6 separate regions of the Homo sapiens genome follow, and regions 2, 3, 4, 5 and 6 are each linked to region 1. Evidence: promoter capture Hi-C in 16 types of primary human blood cells and fetal thymus (Javierre and others, 2016). All regions are on one chromosome and are shown on one strand. Each heading gives the region's core, a stretch centred on a gene start or on the middle of the fragment in contact. The rest is flanking DNA. Distances are from core to core; before and after follow the strand shown.

What was found. Contacts are between HindIII fragments. The CHiCAGO score rates a contact against its expected background, and 5 or more counts as called.
Region 2: a fragment that was not itself captured here is called in contact with the fragment with the promoter of HELQ in region 1 in 1 of 17 cell types (total CD4 T cells); the score reaches 9.3 in total CD4 T cells.
Region 3: a contact is called between the fragment with the promoter of USO1 here and the fragment with the promoter of HELQ in region 1, in 1 of 17 cell types (total CD8 T cells). The highest score is 5.9, in total CD8 T cells.
Region 4: the fragment with the promoter of SDAD1-AS1 here is called in contact with the fragment with the promoter of HELQ in region 1 in 1 of 17 cell types (naive CD4 T cells); the score reaches 6.5 in naive CD4 T cells.
Region 5: a contact is called between the fragment with the promoter of CNOT6L here and the fragment with the promoter of HELQ in region 1, in 1 of 17 cell types (total B cells). The highest score is 5.3, in total B cells.
Region 6: a contact is called between a fragment that was not itself captured here and the fragment with the promoter of HELQ in region 1, in 1 of 17 cell types (total B cells). The highest score is 6.2, in total B cells.

Annotation. Positions count from the first base shown.
Region 1 is chr4:83,454,128-83,457,332 of GRCh38, reverse strand. HELQ (helicase, POLQ like) reads left to right here and starts at 1,510. Exons shown (of 18, transcript NM_133636.5): 1 at 1,510-1,936. The coding sequence starts at 1,640. It overlaps MRPS18C (mitochondrial ribosomal protein S18C), which reads right to left and starts at 1,275. Exons shown (of 6, transcript NM_016067.4): 1 at 1,156-1,275; 2 at 375-424. The coding sequence starts at 1,255. RefSeq lists enhancers at 1,223-1,517, 1,504-1,613, 1,954-2,003, 1,432-2,262. The HindIII fragment of the contact is 1,733 bases long and covers 1-1,703 here.
Region 2 is chr4:75,670,945-75,674,149 of GRCh38, reverse strand. G3BP2 (G3BP stress granule assembly factor 2) reads left to right here and starts at 739. Exons shown (of 12, transcript NM_203505.3): 1 at 739-942. RefSeq lists enhancers at 640-929, 1,210-1,449, 882-1,859. The HindIII fragment of the contact is 474 bases long and covers 1,291-1,764 here.
Region 3 is chr4:75,723,049-75,726,253 of GRCh38, reverse strand. It overlaps USO1 (USO1 vesicle transport factor), which reads right to left and starts at 1,677. Exons shown (of 24, transcript NM_003715.4): 1 at 1,369-1,677. The coding sequence starts at 1,434. It also overlaps a transcript of G3BP2 not described here. RefSeq lists silencers at 1,209-1,386, 1,721-1,890 and enhancers at 1,471-1,550, 647-1,566, 1,567-2,487. The HindIII fragment of the contact is 5,085 bases long and covers 1-3,176 here.
Region 4 is chr4:75,979,287-75,982,491 of GRCh38, reverse strand. It overlaps SDAD1-AS1 (SDAD1 antisense RNA 1), which reads right to left and starts at 1,702. Exons shown (of 3, transcript NR_125906.1): 1 at 1,527-1,702. SDAD1 (SDA1 domain containing 1) reads left to right here. Exons shown (of 22, transcript NM_018115.4): 2 at 455-559; 3 at 1,022-1,120. The HindIII fragment of the contact is 11,776 bases long and covers 1-3,205 here.
Region 5 is chr4:77,817,690-77,820,894 of GRCh38, reverse strand. It overlaps CNOT6L (CCR4-NOT transcription complex subunit 6 like), which reads left to right and starts at 1,527. Exons shown (of 12, transcript NM_144571.3): 1 at 1,527-1,591. The coding sequence starts at 1,587. RefSeq lists silencers at 481-630, 891-1,050, 1,091-1,190, 1,681-1,750, 1,831-2,230. The HindIII fragment of the contact is 6,822 bases long and covers 1-3,205 here.
Region 6 is chr4:77,868,839-77,872,043 of GRCh38, reverse strand. It overlaps MRPL1 (mitochondrial ribosomal protein L1), which reads right to left. Exons shown (of 9, transcript NM_020236.4): 2 at 189-300. Among named protein-coding and RNA genes, the nearest start is that of MRPL1, 7.6 kb to the right of the region's middle. The HindIII fragment of the contact is 516 bases long and covers 1,191-1,706 here.

The sequences.
Region 1 (3,205 bases), core at 261-2,760:
TCTGCTCACCCAAACTACCTTTTAAAATTCCCATATCATTTGCTTACAAAGGGCTATGTAAAAAAAAAAAAAACAATTCCCAAATCACATATCCTTAAATTTAAGATCTAGGAAGAAAAATATGGTATTATAGCAGCTTTGCTTCTAATCTAGGAATTCCCCTACTTCAAAACTCAGCTGACTACATGACTACAATCAATTCATCATCATTTCTGAACTCAGAGTAATTATCAAATTGTTTTGTCCTACGGCAGAACTCTATTCAAGTAGCTAAAATAAAAGATGTTAGAGTCTAATACCAGATCTCGTTTTAAAAAGAAAAACATTTTGGTCATATTTGCAAAGGCCTTACTAATAGAAAAAAAAATTCTTACCAGGTCCTCATTGCTGGATACCTGTTGTGAACAACCTCTTCTCCAAAGCACTGCGATTAAACAGAAACAGCAATTAACCATTTCTTTTTCTTAGCTGAATAGCTAAAGATTTTTGTTTTTATGGAGACAGGATGAATTAAGGGACACGATATTAAAGAAAGGTTTTGTATTATATTCAGAATGGTTAAAAACTTTTATATTTGGGACAGAGTAAGACTCAACATGGGTGTGCTTTCCAGGGCTTAGGGGGAAAAGAACATATTTTCCCGCCCATACCTGCTCTTTCTGACATTTATTTTCCCTTCATTCCATGGTTAGAGAAAATTCTTAATGCAAATTCTTATAGGAGAAGCAACAGAAAGGCACTGTCATACCAAAAAGAAAGTAACAGACCCGTCCCAGAAAGAATTTATAGAGAAGCACAGAGAAGATAAAATTGCAAAAATTATGCAATTTTGTTCTGTTTGGGGACCTTAGACATCTGGAATTTGCTGCTGGGCGACTCTGGAAATGTCCCTTCCTCACTAAGATTATCCAGAGATCTTAGGAAAGTCTCTGCTTTTTAAGAACCACTCCAACTTCCTCATACGTTTAAATACTTTAAAGGAGTGGATTAGACGACACTAAAACAGTCAAAGGCAATTACAGATTCCCACCCATCTTGGAGAAACTTAATCGCCTAGAAACCAGAGTCGTTTTGCTAACAGGGACGACTCTAACCATTAGGACTAAGGTTAATGCCTGCAGCGCTACAATGGAGCATAGGATATGGAGACTTTACCCGTGTGAGTCCCGGGATGTGTAAGGCTGACAGCAGCCGTTACCAAGTGTGTCAACTTCTTCCTCCCTAGACCACCGCAAACAGCAACCACAGCGGCCATGGTTCCGCGTTTCTTCCACTTCCTTTCGTTCCAAATCGTTCCGAAAGGCCCCTTCCGCTGCTCTTCCCCTGTGGGCTCGAGTACCCCGTTCAAAGGTTCCGCAGGAGAACGCTGAGGACCCGCGAGAGTAGGTGAGGTTTTTCAATACGCATGCGCAGCACCTTTCTGTTCGTGCCCTCCCTACGCGGCAGGTCACGTGAGGCTTATGATTGGACAGGGTAGAAGTTTATGCGTGCTTCCGGTCCGCGAGCCCTGAGAGCTAACTTGGGGTCTTTTCCCAAGGTGGATGTAGAAGCGGGCTCCGGCGTCCCACTCTCCCTTCCATATGGGCTTAGCGTCTGGGTCACTGAGAACGACGTCTGAATAGGGCCCTGGGTCCTTGCCATGGATGAATGTGGTTCCCGCATCCGCCGGCGGGTGTCTCTCCCCAAAAGGAACCGTCCAAGCTTGGGGTGTATTTTTGGCGCTCCCACCGCGGCCGAGCTCGTGCCCGGAGATGAGGGGAAAGAGGAGGAGGAAATGGTGGCTGAGAACAGGAGGCGGAAAACCGCGGGCGTACTGCCGGTTGAGGTACAGCCCCTTCTACTCTCAGATTCCCCGGAATGTCTCGTCCTTGGAGGTGGTGATACAAACCCGGACCTCCTACGTCACATGCCCACTGACAGAGGGGTGGGAGACCAGGTACGGAGGACTTGGAACTTGAAACTGCAAACTTTTGGCATCCTTCCCAGATGCAAAGAGTTGACCAGTTTTATCGCCTTCGTTTACTTCTCTCGTCTTCGTTACCACTGTTAATCGGCACTTAGGAGGTATTGATTGCCTTGTTATTTACATTTCTATATAAATATGAAATGTAAACCCCGAGACATAAAAGTTGTGCACGCAGCAGTTAAGTGGCATGACTGAGACACAAATCTAGGCTTCCAGATAACTGCAGCTCCTACTGTACAAATAAAATCTGCTGTTTATTGAAGACCCGTTATGTTAAGCTAGTTATATTATCTAGATTTTACGACAGTAATCAGGCCCTGAAAAGTTGAGATAGTACAGTTCTTGCTCCAAATCCTGTTGTCTTAATCACTTTACTATATTGCTGCCTCCAGGTTTGTGTGTCTTCTGTGTAGCAGACCACTCCAAGTCAGTATTCAGTTTCTCAGTCTCAATTCCAAATTCCTAGGAACTCCTTGGAGTGTCTAGTGGTACAACCATGTTTCTGTTAGAGGCCAGTCACTGTAGATTGTAGTCTGGGAGGGAAGCGCTGCAGTTATCAGAAACTTCGAATGCGCTGACATTTCAGTAGACGTCTACCAGTCTTCCTGCTGTTTTAGTACAGCTTTAAGAATTACAATCTGGCCGTGTGCAGTGGCTCATGCCTATAATCCCAGTGCTTTAGGAGGCAGAGATGGGAGGATCACTTAAGCCCAGAAGTTCGCGTTCAAAACCAGCCTAGGCAACAGAGACCCAGTCTCTACAAAAAAAAAAAAAAATTTTTTTTTCTTAATTAGCCGGGTGTGGTGGCCTGCACCTGTAGTCCTAGCTACTTGGGAGGCTGAGGCAGGAGGATCGCTTGAGCCCAGGATGTCAAGACTGCAGTGAGCTGTGATCGTGCAGTGGCTGGAGCCACTGTGCTCCAGCCTGGGTGACAGAGCCAGACCCTGTCTCAAAAATTAGAATCTCAGTATCATCGTAACACTCCTGAACCTGCTGTTTAGGCAAGTAATTTAACCTCTTTGGGCCTCCATTTCTTCAGCTGTAAGATATCTATTTACATATAGGTCTGTGATCCATATGTGACCATATAATTATATACTTGGTACAGCCCTAGGCTGAAGTGTTTTTTGGGGGTTTTGTTTGTTTGTTTGTTTTGGTTTTTTTGAGACAGAGTCCCACTCTGTTGCCCAGGTTGGAGTGCAATGGCGCGATCTGGGCTTACCGCAACCTGCGCTTCCC
Region 2 (3,205 bases), core at 278-2,777, 7.8 Mb after region 1:
CAAGGTCACCAGTGTCTCACCCTGGGGGCAAGTCTGGGCTTAGAGCTAGAACAGGACTGTAATCCTTGTATTTCAGGCCTTCTTTTAGCTTTAGTATGTAAAATGCTTTAGTATCTACTGATATTTAGCCATGCCTAAATTCGTAACAAGGACACAAAGAAATAGTCTTTTCCCCCTCTGTAAAGCCCACGTCATGTTCTTCCTTTACTGCAGGGCCTCTTAATGGGGCTTAAAACCTAGGATGGGTTAAGTAAACAATGTAGGTGAGTTTAGTGTGCAAACAGCTGAAATCACCGGCTGCATTTTAAGCTCGTCTACAGCAGCAACCTGCAGACACCTATTCAGAGAGATTACTAAATTCCCTCCTTCCCATTAATAAAAAGGACCAGAATATCAGTCTACAAAAGACACTGCGTTGCTGCGAACCAGCTCTCGCTTGCGCGATCAGGAAGAAGGGCGGCAAGGCTGGAGCCTCGGGACCGGAGAAAGGCAGCCTGCTTGTGACGTCAAATCAGCGGACTCTTATCTTGGCTTTAGGCCGGTTCCGGTTCCCCGGCTTTCCGGGCGCGAGCGTGTGCGAGCGCGGCAGCGTACTGCGCGTGCTCCGCAGAGGGACACGGGAAGGTTGGGTCCGGCTCTGGAGGAGATGCGTGATTGGCTGACGCTGTGCTCGGGGGTTCCCTGGCCCTTTCGGCAGGGGTAAAACAATAAGAGGGGGCGGTGGCAAAGGGGGCGGGACGTCCGTGGTCCTTGTCGCACGTCGCAGCGCCTGGCGCCCGGGAAGAGGTGGTTGTGAGGCAGACGAACTCGCGGCTCTCCGGCTTCCGAGGCTTCCGAGTTGTCGGAGGAAGGGGGCGGCGAGCAATAAGAACCCGCCGCACCCGGTCCTCAGCGACTCTTCTGACCTCCGCGCGACGTACCCGCCGCCGCCGTTGGCTGGAGGTGTGTACGGGCGCCGGGAGGGGAGGTCGGTGTGGTGGTCGGAAAGGGACATTCCATTCGCGCTCCGCGGCGCGAGGCAATCGTCCGGTGTGTGAGCCCGGGAGCCGGAGGTGTAGCGGCAGAGACATTGTTCTTGCCGGCTCCCTACGGTGCCGTGTGTGCGTGAGAGAAGACCAGTCTTTCCTCTAGGTGAGGGGTGGGAGGCCGCCTGGGAAGGGAGGTGACCCGCGAGCGTCTTGCGGGCAGAGGGCTCCGAGTGCACAGGTGGGGTTGAGGTTTATTGGGGATGAGGTGGCGAAGTGGGGGGGGAGGCACGCAGCAGCTCCCGAAGGCGCGCTGATGGAAGCTTAATACAGGAAGTGTGGGAGCAGGCTTTCTGGAGGGGATGTTTTAGGGTGGGTAGCCCACCGTTCCTGTTTCCGAATCGTTTTCGGCTCTTGTACCTTGTTCCTTCGGAGCGGAGAGGCCGTCGCCACCCCGCCCGTGGGGGGAGGGGAAAAGAGGTTGTGTCGACGGAGGCAGAAGCGACGCAGATGCGAAAGTGGCGGCCTCCGGGCACCATTTCTGTGCACGGAAACAGAATCCGGGTTTGAAGGCAGCCGCCGCTTCGCTTACCCAGTACCTAGTGTTCCGTCGTGTTTGACCAACCCCCCTCTCCCTGCCACCGCGGGTTTAATCCGAACGTGTTCGGATACTGGAACTGTAACGTGCGCCTTCTTCGTCCCCCTCTTATGCAGACGATCCCTTATTGACTCGGGAATGGCTTTTGGGGGATGGGTTCCCGCTTTTGTTGGGATGGGGGGACAGAAAGGAACAGAAGCTTCCCTAGATTGTGTTGATTTTGTTAGTGGAATCTGATAGAATTTTTCCTGCGTCTCTAAAAGCAGATTTCTTAAGATGGCCCTTTGCCGCTTTGGGGCGAATATAGATTTTCGTCTATAATTTCCTGCATAGATCAGCTTTTTTCCCCAAGACATACTTAATGTTCTAACGGATTTGGGGGGTGGGAGGAGAGTGCCTTTTCCTTCATAACAACAACAAAAAAAAGGCACTTGCACTTTTAGCTGGAATAGTAAAGTCCTGTTCTCCCTGTATGATTGTTGTGGGATATTAACTTGGATTAAGATACTGTGGTTTTAGGTTCAAGGCTCTGTACCTTGTTCTGGTCTTTCAAACGTTAGTGTTGCAGGTACCTGGATCTAGGAAACATTAACTGTCGTTAAGAGAGCCCCGGTGTACTAGAGTGGGAGATGATGGCAATTTTTCTCTAGCTCCATATTTGGCAGTTAATATAGCCTTAGGCATGTGAACCAAGTTTCTAAGTAAACTTTTGGCCCTGTTAGCATCCAGTGGTCTTTTTGATAATCCAAGATTCCTGGTCTTAGGAGATAAACGGTACGATGAGTTTGAACCTCAGGATTGAATTATCCTTTCTTTGGCAGTAACATTTTTCTTAAATGTTTAAGATTACTCTTATGGGCCTTTATGTTATGATTTAATCTTTACAAACTAATTCTGAAAAGCAGTCAAGGAATTGTAGGAATAATAAGGACCTAGAATGAATTTCTTACTAAGAGCTGTCATAGTTCAGATTGATATTCAGGGTCGAAATATTAGTAATAGTGAAAAAACATCAAGAGTGAACCAGAATGCTTGTGGGATGGATGGGGATAAAAATTAGAAGGTAAAGAAGAAAACACATTATTTGACCATTTCGTAGAGTAACTAACTTAACTGTTCAGTTAGCAGCTGAGCAGTTGATTTGTCAGCAGGCAACTCCTGGTTTGAAGAAAGTGTTGGCACTGTGTCTTTAGATTCTGAAAACTTCCCTCCTTATCCTGCAAAATTATCGCTGTTTATTACGCATAATTAGGATTGAACATTTTCCCCCTAGATTGCTTTAAAAAGACTTTCCACATATTTTGAGTGAATATGGAGACAGTGAATGACTCCTTTTCAATGTTGATTTTGAAAGGCACAAACTAAAGTGTTGCGTCTGAACTTAAATTCAGTAGAATTTAATGGACAAACATGACCTAGTTACTCTCCACTGGTAGACACTTGTTTTATATCCGATAGAATAAATTGGTCCACCCACCTTCAGGAAGGTCCTGGCCTACCTTCAGAAGCAATAGAATTAGTTTCTTGACTGTCGTGTTTCTGCTTACTTTTATCTGCTAATTTCCAAGTATTTTACCCTATCTTGAAACCATAGGTATATTGAAAATTATTCTTGGATTTTCTGTTGCTGTCCTGCTGTATT
Region 3 (3,205 bases), core at 428-2,927, 7.7 Mb after region 1:
GCTAGAGTGCAATGGCACGATCTCTGCTCACCGTAACCTCCGCCTCCCGAGTTCAAGCGATTCTCCTGCCTCAGCCTTCCGAGTGGCTGGGATTACAGGCATGTGCCACCACGGCCGGCTAATTCTGTATTTTTAGTAGAGACGGGGTTTCTCCATGTTGGTCAGGCTGGTCTCGAACTCCCGACCTCAGGTGATCCGCCGGCCTCAGCCTCCCAAAGTGCTGGGATTAGAGGCGTGAGCCACCGCGTCCGGCCTACTTCACCCCTCTCAGTCTCATTTTTTGACTTTTAAGGTGAGAATACTCTCACCTATCTTGCAGGGTAGTTAACGATTAAAGCATAATGTGGAATATAAAGAGCTCAGCACAGAACCTAGCACAAGGTAAGAGCCTGACAAATGAAAGCTACTATATTATCCCTCAGGATCCCATTAACAAAGTTAGCCATTAAAGTGTTATACTTAGTCTCTTTTATGTAGATCTAAAATTCTTCTCAAATAAAAAGTTTATTTCAAAAAGGCATACACCCTCGATTCCATTAAACACTAACCAAACTTCAAAATAAGTGTATTCTAAACCTAGAATCTAAGCAACTATTAAATAATGTTTTCAGCGGCTAACCATTTTTTTTTTTTTTTAAATAACGCCGCAAATCATGTCATTAGGAGTTCAGGCAGAAAGCGGTGGACGTGTCCCCAAAGCAGTTTGAGCGCTTAAGATCCCTACTACGTTCAAGGTAGCATTTGCCAAATGATATATATTTGGGTGAGCCCGAAAAGCCGGATCTGAACAAATAACACCAGGCAGAACGACCGCTCTTCCAGTTGATGGGACAGGAGCAGGTGGATTTGTCCTTCAAAGAATATCGTTTTATTCTTAGCCAAATGCTCTCACCAACAGCTGGGTTTTAAACCTTCTCGCAGTTTTCCCCAACGCCCCAGTTTCAGACTGCGAGGGAGGGAGCAGGACTTCAGGCTCCTCTCGGCCAGTGCAGACGAGCGAAAGAGAAAGAGGGAGGGGCCCACGGCCCCGAGGGGCGTGGGAGGCAGTTCGGGCCAGCTCGGCCGCGCATCCGTCCCTTCCCGTGCGGTACCACCTGCGGACCACTCTCCTAGCCCGAGCTTCAGGGCCTACAGAGCTGCGGGGCGCGGCCGCCGTCAGTCCGGCCGAACGGCAGCAATGGGGACTGAGCTGGGGGCGTGATTGAATAACTCTGGGATTTCAGGAGCGGAAGGAGGGCAAAGGGGGAGGCGGCATGTGGATGCCCCCTCCATGGTGGGACGCTGGAGGTGACCTTCGGGTCTCCGAGTGCTCCGTCCCCGTCCCTGCCCGGACCCCTTCCCAAGTCCCAGACCCGCTGCTCCTCTCACCGTCTCGGCTTCTGTGTGCTGGGGTCCGGCACTCTGACCCCCCATTACCCCGCGGAGGAAATTCATCTTGCCGTTCAGCCACCAGGTTTACCGGCCCCTCCGGAAAAAAAAGAAGACAACTTCCCCCGCCCTCCGCAGGGCCTGGGCCCCAATCCCGCACTCTACACACTCCTACTGCTGCCACCACCGCCTCCAACTCGGCGGCCACTCCAGCCCTCTAAGCCCGGAAACAGCCGCCAGCAGCGGCCAAGATGCGCATGCGCGGGGACGTGGCATTACGTGGCGGCTCGAAGGTTGAAGGCAAAAGGGGAGCGGAGGCGAGAGGAACCTCTTAGCTAGGTTCCGCCGAAGCCCCACCCACTGCGCAGACCCCGCCTCCCACCGCAGGGGCACGCCTCCTACCCCCACCCTTCGCGGATTGATCCTGCTGGCCGCAGCCACCCACGTGGTGGAAGCCCGGCCCTGCAGGCTGGAGAGGATTTGATTAGACTACGCGTTTCGACTTGCAGGGTGTTTAATCGTCGCCAAGCGGGACTTACTGCAAGCTATCAAATCTGAGGTCTTATTTTGTTGAGTCGAAAGTGAAATTTTCCTTTGGCCAACGTGACAGGTAAGGCTTCCTGGCGCCTGAGAGGGTTCGCTTGGTTTGACGGTTTACTGGTACCAGCATTGTGGCTTTCTGATCCCGGTAAATTGCATTTCTTTACAGGGCTTTGTTTGGTGGTAAAAAGGGTTACTAGACACCCCTCATTCCACTGCCACTGGAGGGCGCATTTCTCAGCTCTTGCTCTTCAAACCTGCTGAAAGGAATTCCTAGATCTAAACACCAGGTACACCTCTATTTTCAAGTGTCGTCAGGAGGAAACCCATCAAACCCTACATTTAGCTTACTAGAGAAATACATTGTTCTGCTGTGTCAGTTTGGCGAGTAACATAATGTTTCGTTATTAACTCTCAACCCCTGTGTTTTCAGTTTTTTTTTTTTTAACATGAAAAATTGTCATTTTCTCTAATTGGTATGCCTGTTCCTTTGGCAGTGAGGTTGTCAGTACACATGCTTCTGGAATAGTCTTGTAAATTTCTTGAGGCTAAAAAGCACAGGTCTAGTTAGCTAACTGACTCATGCACCTCTCCCCTTGGATTCCCCACAGGTCTCAGATTCAGCATTTAAAATTGAACTCGTCATCTTTCCCTGCCTCCCTTAAAGAAAAAAAGTCAATATGCTGCTTCTACTGTGTGCGTGCCGTGCTCAGTAGTACCACTGTCCAAATAATTGCCTAAGCTAGACAGAGGAAGCTGGGAAGAATCTTAGACTCTGGCTTTCCACCCACACATGTCCAATCAATAGTCATGTCCTATCATTTCTATTTATAGAATATTTCTCAAATAGGTGTTCTGCTCTCCATCCTCTGTGCCTGTGACATAGATTATGTTCTTCTCATCATTTCTCATTGAGATGACAGCAACAGCCTCCTAATTAGTTTGTCTGCATTCAGCCCTGGCTTCCTTCCAGTCCAATCTCCAGTCCATCCTTGGGTGAGACTAACAACAACAAAACATCTGTTCATGTCATTCCTCTTAAAATCCTCCAGTTGTTCCCCATTCTGTCCAGAATAAAGTGCAAACTCCTTAGTTTGTCATACAGGCCTGTTATGATTTAGCTCCTGCCTACTTTTTCAGCTCCTGCCTCCCCCACATACTCTGGGCATTTTTCTCAGACCTGGATATGCCCTTCCCTTCCTTTCTCTTCATCAAGCAAACTCCTGCTAATTCCTTAAGGCTCAACTCTGACATCATTCTTGAAAGCTTTCCCTAAAATGTAGGTACACATCTATAT
Region 4 (3,205 bases), core at 453-2,952, 7.5 Mb after region 1:
ATTTTTTGTAGAGACAAGGTCTCCCTGTGTTACCCAGTTTGGTCTCGAACTCCTGGGCTCAAGTGATCCTCCCACTTTGGCCTCCCAAAGTGCTGGGATTACAAGTGTGAGCCACTACACCCAGCAGTCGGGATCATTTAGATAGTAACTGGCAGAACAGGGCTACAATCTGAATTTGGGATTCATGCTTCTCTGTTCTTACACCATGCTGCCTAAACTTGTAGTGATAATTCCAAGGAAAAGTTCTTTAGATTATCTGTGATGTGCTCAGGTCTTTAAAAAGCGCACTTTGAAGAATGCAGATAAGGCAAAAGGAGTGTTTTTATATACTTTTGCATTATCTTTTTCTCCATGTGATCGTCAACAGTTTCTACTAAGAATTTCTCTACTGAATGTCTGTACTGAGAAAGTCATGTAATACAATGTGACAAACTTAAATTTTATTTTTCTGCAGTTTCTACAGCAGTATAATCACTACAAATCCAATGTGGAGATTTTCAAATTGCAACCAAATAAACCCAGCAAAGAACTAGCAGAGCTGGTGATGTTTATGGCACAGGTAAGAATATAATTGCTTAAATAAAGACCAGTATTAACACACAGTTTGCTGAATGTTTTTTCACTAATACTCAACCTTATTCCACTCTGGAATGGGAACTTAATTAAAATATTTTTCTAACTTTCCCTTTTTGCAAATTTTATTTTCTCCCTATCATGAGTTAGAGAATGTCACTAGATCTTTTTGCATAACTAACCAGGACAAAACTTTAAGACTATTTTTTTTCTTCAAATTCATCATAAAAGCAGGTACTAAATCATGCCATAAATATTACTAAGACTAGAGAAACCATGATAAATGTTGGAGAAATTAACATGTAGAAGGAAAAGAAGGTTGTTTGGAACCATCTACTTCTATGAAACATAGCCTTTTACTCTCGTTTTGCAGAACATCCTAAATGTATGCATCTGAATTATAGGAGAGAAAGAGAGCAACTTCAGAAGAGCCTTTGCTTTGTTACAGATTAGTCACTGCTACCCAGAGTACCTAAGTAATTTTCCTCAAGAGGTGAAAGATCTTCTCTCCTGCAATCATACCGTATTGGATCCAGATCTGCGAATGGTAGGACCAGTAGTTGGATGAATAAATTGTGCTGTGTTCATGTGTGCTGCGTTCATATATATTTAAATGAGAACAGCCTCTAAGCTAATTATCTTCAGAAAACGTAAATTATAATGTATTATCCTTTCCTAAAAATCCTTCTATGGCTTCTCATTTATACTTAGAGTAAAACGGAAACTTAATAACCTGGCTCAAAAGTGCCTGCATGATCTGCTTCCAGCCTGTGTTTCTGATATCATATTGTTTTCAGCTACACTGTGATCTTTCTATTCTTCCAGCACACTAACCCTACAGGATGCTCTTTAACCTTTTGAGATGATTTCTTCTAGTCATTCAAATCTCATATGCATGTAGAATCCTAATCACAACTTGTCATTTTTATAATGCCTTAAATTAGTAAACTTACCCATTAGACAGTCAGTTTGAGCATTTCATCATTGTCCTTTTAGTGGTTGGGGTTGAGTCCTGGCTGACATTCCCTTCACGAGGCCGGTGTACCTGTTTGCCCCACTTGTTGTGAATGTCAGCTGCTGGTGGCCCTCAGCTGCCCTTTCTCTGCAACATTGTCCTCAGCTAAATCGGAGTCCTAGTGCCTGGGAGGTGTCCTCCTACCCTAGTAGCCCACAGCCCATTATCATGTGGTACAAAAGCCCAGCCCATTACCTCAGGGTGGCTCTGACTCCAATGCAGGATGTGCTCCAGTGTTTTCCTGTGTTGGGACTAAAGCTAGTCTCCAGTCAAGGGCACATCCTTGCTTTGCTTTGCGTGTCTCTGCACTATCCTCCTTCCTTCACTTCCTTTCTGAGATCATACCCCCAACAAATCACTTGTAATAAATCAGTCTCTGCTTCTAGGGACTAAGACATTTCCAAATTTAATACATCTGCTTTTCAAACCTCTTTACAGCAGATAAGTACGCAAATATGATCACAAAACGTACTAATATCCTATAGCACAACTTGTAGAAATGCCAAGTCTTTAGATGAATATTTGTTTTCTTTTAGACTTTCTCAGGTTTTTTGTATTTCTATCATTTTTATACTACTTTAGGATTTTAGTAATTTGATTAGGCCAAAAAGAAAAAGAATACTGTCTCAGACAAGCCAAGGTTTCAGGCCCTGGGTTGTCAACTGATTGATACTCAGCTGGTACATGGGACCTGGCAGTATAGCCCAAGGGACTCCAAACTTGAACCCCTAGTCTAAAGGCTTTTACCTATGTCATGTTACTCTTGAAGTCCTTGTAGGTCATAGAGATTTGATATTTTGAGTATAGAGACTTAATGGCTTTCCAAGTAATTAGGATTTCTTTAAGTTTTATTTTCCTGGCAGTACCCCACCAAACTGGTCTGTGGGCATTATTAAATTAATATATATGCCAGGTGCACCTGTAGTCCCGGCTTCTTGGGAGGCTGAGGCAGGAGGATTGCTTGAGGTCAGGAGTTTGAGGCTGAGGTGTGGTATGAGCATGCCTGTGAATAGCCACTACACTGCAGCCTAGGCAACATAGCAAGATCCCACCTCTAAATTTTTTTTTAAATGGAAAAAAATGTGTATGTATATTTCTTTATAGTGCTTTATGATGATTAGTAGGTTTTTAAAAAATAATAAAGATTTCCGCCAGGCGCGGTGGCTCACGCCTGTAATCCCAGCACTTTGGGAGGCCGAGGCAGGAGGATCACCTGAGGTCGGGAGTTCGAGACCAGCCTGACCTACATGGAGAAACCCTGTCTCTACTAAAAATACAAAATAAGCCGGGCATGGTGGTGCGTGCCTGTAATCCCAGCTACTTGGGAGGCTCAGTCAGGAGAATTGCTTGAACCTGGGAGGCGGAGGTTGCAGTGAGCCGAGATCGCGCCATTGCACTCCAGCCTCTGTCTCAAAAAAAAAAAATAATAATAATAATAGAGATTTCCTTTACTAGGAGATAAAGGATTGCGTCTGTATAGTTAGCATTGCTCTTTAGAGGAAGCATTGAACACACTGGAAGAAGCTCTTTTTAATTGGTTATTGGGATAACCAACAATTCTTATCAGCCACTGGGCTATCTTTCTACCTGGTGTATTTGCTATTTTTCCAAGACTTT
Region 5 (3,205 bases), core at 278-2,777, 5.6 Mb after region 1:
TCACCAAGTAAACACTACTATTTCTAGTTTGCATTTGGATGTTTTCATTCTGTAGATGGCATGGATAAGCTACAAACAACAAACTAAAGTCTACAACGAGAAGGGAGAATTAGAAAATAGGACCGGGTTATCGCTGAGCGTCACAGGTTCTTTTATTTACCTTTGACGATACAACTTACAGATGCTATATGTTTTTAAAAAAAATCCACCGAATATGTCAGGAAACATTTCCTTCGGTCACTTCACCTCCCCTGGCGTCTCAGCCACCTAGACCTACGCTCTGCTTCGCTGTCAGGTCGCCTCGGGCGAGGAGGGTGCAGTAAACAGCGCCCACACAAGAACCCGGGGTGAGGCGGTTTCCCGTCTCTTCGCCAAGGCTCTGTGGATGTGGGTTTCTGAAACTCTACCACTCTTCTCAGCCCCGCTCCTCGCTCAGGCCAGGAAAAAAGAGTGAGAAAACAGCCAGAGCAAAACAGAAAACCATTAAGAAGCCCGGGCCTCCGCGCGCTCACCGCGACAAAACGCGGCGCACGGGGGGCGGGGCCAAGGCGCTGCGTAGGAGCTCCGCCCCGTCACCGCCCCGCCTCCTTCCCCTCACCCCAACCCTCCGCGCCGGGGAGTGACTGACTCCCGCCAGCCCCTCCACGTCAATCAACCCTCCTCGTTCTCGCACTCTCTGCACCTTGTTATTAATCTCAATACCGATATCGCCCGGACGCCTCTCCCCCGGCCCTCGGGGGTGTGAACGTGTGTGAGCGGGAGCGAAGGCACCGAAAGCTGGCGTCTCTGTTCAACCTCGGCCCCAGCAGCACCCGGCGCAGCGGCAACCCCCGCAGCGGCGGCAGCCCCAGCACCAGGAGGCCAAGGCCAAGGCCAGGCTCTGCGTGGCTCTCGGAGCAGTAGCCGCGGCTCCGGCCCTGCGGGGGCGCAGCTTCCTTCGGCTGGGGCCTTCGCGCCGGCGGCCGCGGCCGCGGGGCCTCTCTTGCGCGCCTGGGGTCACTGTCCTCGAAGCCCGGCGGCGCGGCCCTCGTCCCCCTTCCCGACCCCCGGTCTGTCTCCTCGCTCCCTTCAGCCGCCTTCCGCGCCGCCGCCTCTGCCGTTCGTCAGGCGGCCCGGCCCGGCCCGCCCGCCCCGCATCCCCTCCGGCCGGTGCCTCTCCCCTCCGGCGGGCTGCCTGCATGTCTTTGCTGCCCTCAGCCCCGCCGCCACCGCCGCCGCCGCCTCCCCCGCCGCCGCAGCACCAGCACCAGCCGCCCCGTCGCCGCCGCCGCCGCCGCCGCCCGGACCCCGGCGCGCTGAATGCAGGTGAGGAGGGGGCGCGGGCCCCCCGAGACCCCGGGCCCGGGTTCCCTGCGCGCCCGCCCGCGAGCCCCGGTTACGGGCCCTGTGTGCCGCCGCGGCTTCCCCTCGGGGCGGGCGGGAGCGAGGCCCGCCGTGGGTGTTTGTGTTTGCGTCTGCGTCTGCGGCCGCGGCTCTGGAGGGGAAGCATCTGTGGGGGCCTGGTGCGCGCGCGCGCGCGTGTTTGTGTGTGTGTTTCCCCTGCCGCGGGGAAATGGCTGCTGTTGCTTCTGGGCCAGAGGAAGAGAATGAGGTAGAGTGTTCTTTTGCCTCCGAGTAGGACCGAGAGTGTTGGGAAGAGGAGCGCGTCCCCGGGGAAATGAGGTGGGAGAGGGACAAATGTGCGTGTGGGTGTGCGAGTTGGGACTTTGGCGGGCGGGGAGGCGGCCCGAGGACCCACGGCGAGTGGGTGTGTGTCGGGTGACTGGAGGGGGCGGCGGGGCTGACCCGCGTCTCTTCAGAGGCGGGCGAAGGTTCCGGGGTGTGTGTGTGTGTGTGTGTGTGTGTCGGGGGTGGCCCGGGGCCGGGACCCCAGAGTGGCGTGTCCCTCCCGCTTTGTGGCTGCGGCTCCCGAGCCTCGCAGGTGAGAGCTGCTCCTAGGGGGCCGGCCGGGGAGGGCTGAGTGAGTGCGGCACACGCGCGGCAGCGGGGCTGGGAGAGCTGCTGGTCGGTGCCGCGCCGCTGATCCCGGGGCCGCCGTTCCCCGGCCGCGGCAGGAAGCGCGCCGGCCTGCAGCGCGGCCTAACTGCCTGGGCGCCCGCCCACCTCCCCGGACGCCTCCCGGGACGGCGAGCCCGCGCGAGCCCACGGCGCTGCCTCGGGCCTGGGCAGGTGAGGGTCGGAGGCGGGACTCGCCGATTGCCGTCGCCGTGGCCGCCTCCGCGTCTCCTGAGAGGCGAAGGCTTATTTTGGCGTTCCAACTGCAAGCCTTCGCCCGGCCGGCTGTGGGACCCGAGGGAGGAAAGTGAATCAGAACAGTCAGTCTTGGGAATACGCGGTGTCGTGTTCCCTTCTTTTCATCCTTCCCCTAAGGCTGTGTGGAGGGACTGAGTAAATATTTTGGATTTTTGTTGCAAATACTTTGCCGTTGGTAAGATTTTTTTTTTTTTAATTAGACAAACATTTTCTTGGAAGGGCTGAGGAAGAAAGGGAAACTGGCTTTCCTGGCCTGTGGGATTGGATGGATTTTGTGCATTTGAAATTGTTTTATCCTGCCTCCTAGGGGGAGAGGCGTGTACGCGCCGCCGAGCTGAGGAGCTGGGTGAGGAAGAGGAAGTTACTGGAGCTGTCATCCTGCTTAACTCGGTCGGCTATTGAGCTTAGACTGTTTAGGTGGATTGTGTTCAGGGAGTTTAGCTGAGCCGTTTGTACACATTGGAAGCACAGTGTTACATTTTACCGTATTGCCTCTAGTTATCTTGTCAATCAAGATAGGCTCAACAAACATGTTTTCCTCAGTCTCCAAAAACTAGATCAAGCAACCTCTGTTGTCTACTCAGTATGTGCTGCTGGAAAGCTATTTTGAGAATAGCCTAAGCAAAACCCAGTTGTAAAGATAAACCTGCTGCCAATAGGTCTACAGTACATTTCAGAACCAAATACAAATGGCATTTGGATAATTATTTGCTAATGTGCTTTTCTACTCCAACCTCATTACATTTGTATGTAGTTAGATCATTTAGCTAGAACCGTGCTGTGGATAAAAGCATAATACAGTTTCGATCCTTGTAGGCCGTACTCTGTGTCATGGCCAGAGATTGCTCTTTGCACCTGGTCTCACAAAGAAATAGTGTATGCTGTTCACGGGGAAGTGGAGGGAAGAGAAGGAGGGGCGAAGAGCTGTTCTCTATTACCACTACTGGAAAAA
Region 6 (3,205 bases), core at 199-2,698, 5.6 Mb after region 1:
CATCAGTGTTCAATAAACGTTAAGTATTATTATGTCTTATCTTTCCTTCAGGACTATAAGGTCGATGAAGCAGAAATAATAAACTTTTACAACTATATGTCCTGGTAAATCTTTATGGAACTAAACATGCTTTTTAAAAAAAATTAAAATGACAACAAATGAAATAATAACTAAAAAAAAATACTTACTTTGTAGCAGCAGCAAAATGTCTGTTGGGCACTCGGATGTTTACAGAACAAGAACAAAGTGATGTCTGATAAACCATCTTGGAAAGGCTATGCCTTTGATGATGTATCAAGGCTTGAAAGGAAAAACATGTAAAATATTAACATTAAATAATCATTATATTCATAATTTTTTAATTTTAAAAGTCAGTACTTTCAAAATGAAAACATTCAATATTTTGTGATTTTTAATCCTTCTTTTAAAAGTGTAATAATAGCCAGGCACAGTGTCTCATGCCTGTAATCCCAGTACTTTAGGAGGCTGAGGCGGGTGAATCACGAGGTTAGGAGATCAAGACCATCCTTGCTAACACGGTGAAACCCCGTCTCTACTAAAAATACAAAAGATTAGCCAGGCATGGTGGCACGAACCTGTAGTCCCAGCTACTTGGGAGGCTGAGGCAGGAGAATCGTTTGAACCCAGGAGGCGGAGGTTGCAGTGAGCCGATATAGCGCCACCGCACTCCAGCCTGGGCGACAGAGTGATACTCCATCTCAAAAAAAAAAAAAAGTGTAATAATAGAAACCACAGTTCTTGAAACTAAAAGCAGGTAAATACATCTAATATTTGAACTATCTTATCTTTTTTTTTTCTTTTAAAGACAGGCTTTCACTCTGTCACCCAGGCTGGAGTACAGTGGCATGAACACAGCTCACTATAACCTTGAACTCCTGGGTTCAAGTGGGCCTCCCTCCTCAGCCTCTCAAGGCTCTGGGGTTTTCATCTATTTTTAACTTAAACTATTTCATATTCATCAGAGTATGTTAGTTCTATTATTAGGGAATATGTATATGTATCCCAAAATTTCTTAATTTATTTGTTCATTTTTACAATAAATAAGACATTAACACAGTTGCCCAAGTACTTCTGAAGATAAGAACAAAGTGGGGTACTGGATCTGTGAGAAATAAGAAAAAGGTACACAGGTCTTTGAAGGTATTGTTAATGTTCTATTTTTTTAAGCTTAATAGTGAATATTTAGAATTTCAAGCTATTATTATTCTTTTCATCTTAACTATATTCTTTTGCGTGTGTAAATATTAGAAATATGTTTTTATTTAAAGATTACAAAAGTAAAGTCTTCCTCCTACACCTGGCCCCCAGCTTCTCTCCCATGTTAGCAATACCTTATGCATCTTTTTAGAAACACTATATACATATATAAACATATAGGTACCAATATATTTCCCTCCTCTTTTATAAAATGGTAGCATACTCTAATCACTACTCCATCTTGCTTTTTCACCTAAAGGTATTAGAGCCTATTTTCACAAACATACACACACATATACATGAGATGCAGATGAGATTTTATGTGTGCCTTTCATAAAGGTGTGTGTACATGCATACATTTGAGAGATCACTTCATATCAGTTTATAAAGATTTTATTGCTGAGTGTGGTGGCTCATGCATGGAATCCCAGCACTTTGAAAAATCACGTATGATAAATGAAGGAACAAGCAATTATCCATTCGAAGCTTGGCAAACACTTCCAAACAATTCTAGTTGTACTATACAAGAACCTAACAACCTTGGAAGATCCCAAAATAATAATTCTCTTGGGGAAACAAACAAAAAAATCTCTTGAACATATCAATTGCAATCTGCTATTTTAAAAAATCAAGGCCAGTCACAGTGGCTCATGTCTGTAATCCCAGCACTTTGGGAGGCCAAGGCAGGAGGAACCCTTGAGCCCAGGAGCTCGAGCCCAGCCTGGGCAATAGAGTGGAACCCCATCTCTACAAAAAATTTAAAAATTAGCGACGGTGCACAGCTGTAGTCCCAGCTACTCAGGAAGCTGAGGTGGGAGGATTGCTTGAGGTGGCAGGATCACTTGAGCCAGGAAAGTTGAGGCTGCAGTGAGTTCTGATCTCACTATTCCACTCCAGACTGGGTGACAGGAACCCTGTCTCAAAAAAACAAAACAGGCTGGGTGCGGTGGCTCACACCTGTAATCCCAGCACTTTGGGAAGCTGAGGTGGGTGGATCACCTGAGGTCAGGAGTTTGAGACCAGCCTGACCAAGATGATGAAACTGTCTCTACTAAAAACGCAAAAAAAATTAGCTGAGTGTGTTGGTGCATGCCTGTAATCCCAGCTACCTGAGAGGCTGAGGCACAAGAATCGCTTGAACCTGGATGGCAGAGGTTGCAGTGAGCCGCGCCACTGCACTCCAGCCTGGGCAACAAGAGCGAAACTCTGTCTCAAAAACAAACAAACAAACAAACAAACAAACAACAAAAAGCAAGCAAGCAAGCAAAACCACTACTATCAGTCATGACAACCAGAAACTACAATTTTCAACAGAAATCAAACACTACAGACCAAAAGAAACCAAATACCACTATTTAAGTAGCACTGTTAGATCATGATATCTATGTTTTCAATCCTTTTGTAGTCAATTTGTCTAGCTGTATTATTTTATCTCCTTTATTAATACATTTCTCTTCCCCTTATTCTTAGCATATAACCTCACTTGCTACTTCAGAGAAAATAGCCCTCAGAACTTCCTGAACTACTGAGTCTCCCTGATCCAGCACTCATTCTCAAAATCTCTCCCACCCCGTGGCAATGAGATAGAAACAACTCCCTCTCCTTTCTTATCTCTTTTAATTGATAGTGAAAGGTTAGAGTTCCCTTGAGGTCAGTCCTATACTGCCTTCTCACCTGACTCTATAATCCTCACTCTCCCTAGGGAATCGTATCCATCTATTCTTGCCTTTCTGCTACAACCATCACAGTCCAGGCTACCATCACCTACCACCTGGATTACTGCCACAGCCTCTAAACTGTTCTGTCTTCTACACTTGGCCCTCTCCATTTCTTTTCCACCTATATTAGTAAGAGGGATCATTTTAAAATGAAAATTTCACCATGTCCTTAAAATACTTGGATGGCTAAACTTGGCTCTTTGAACAAAGGAAATTTTTACCAAGGTACTCCACGAGCTACTACTAAACTATCCAGTGAGCATCCTCTA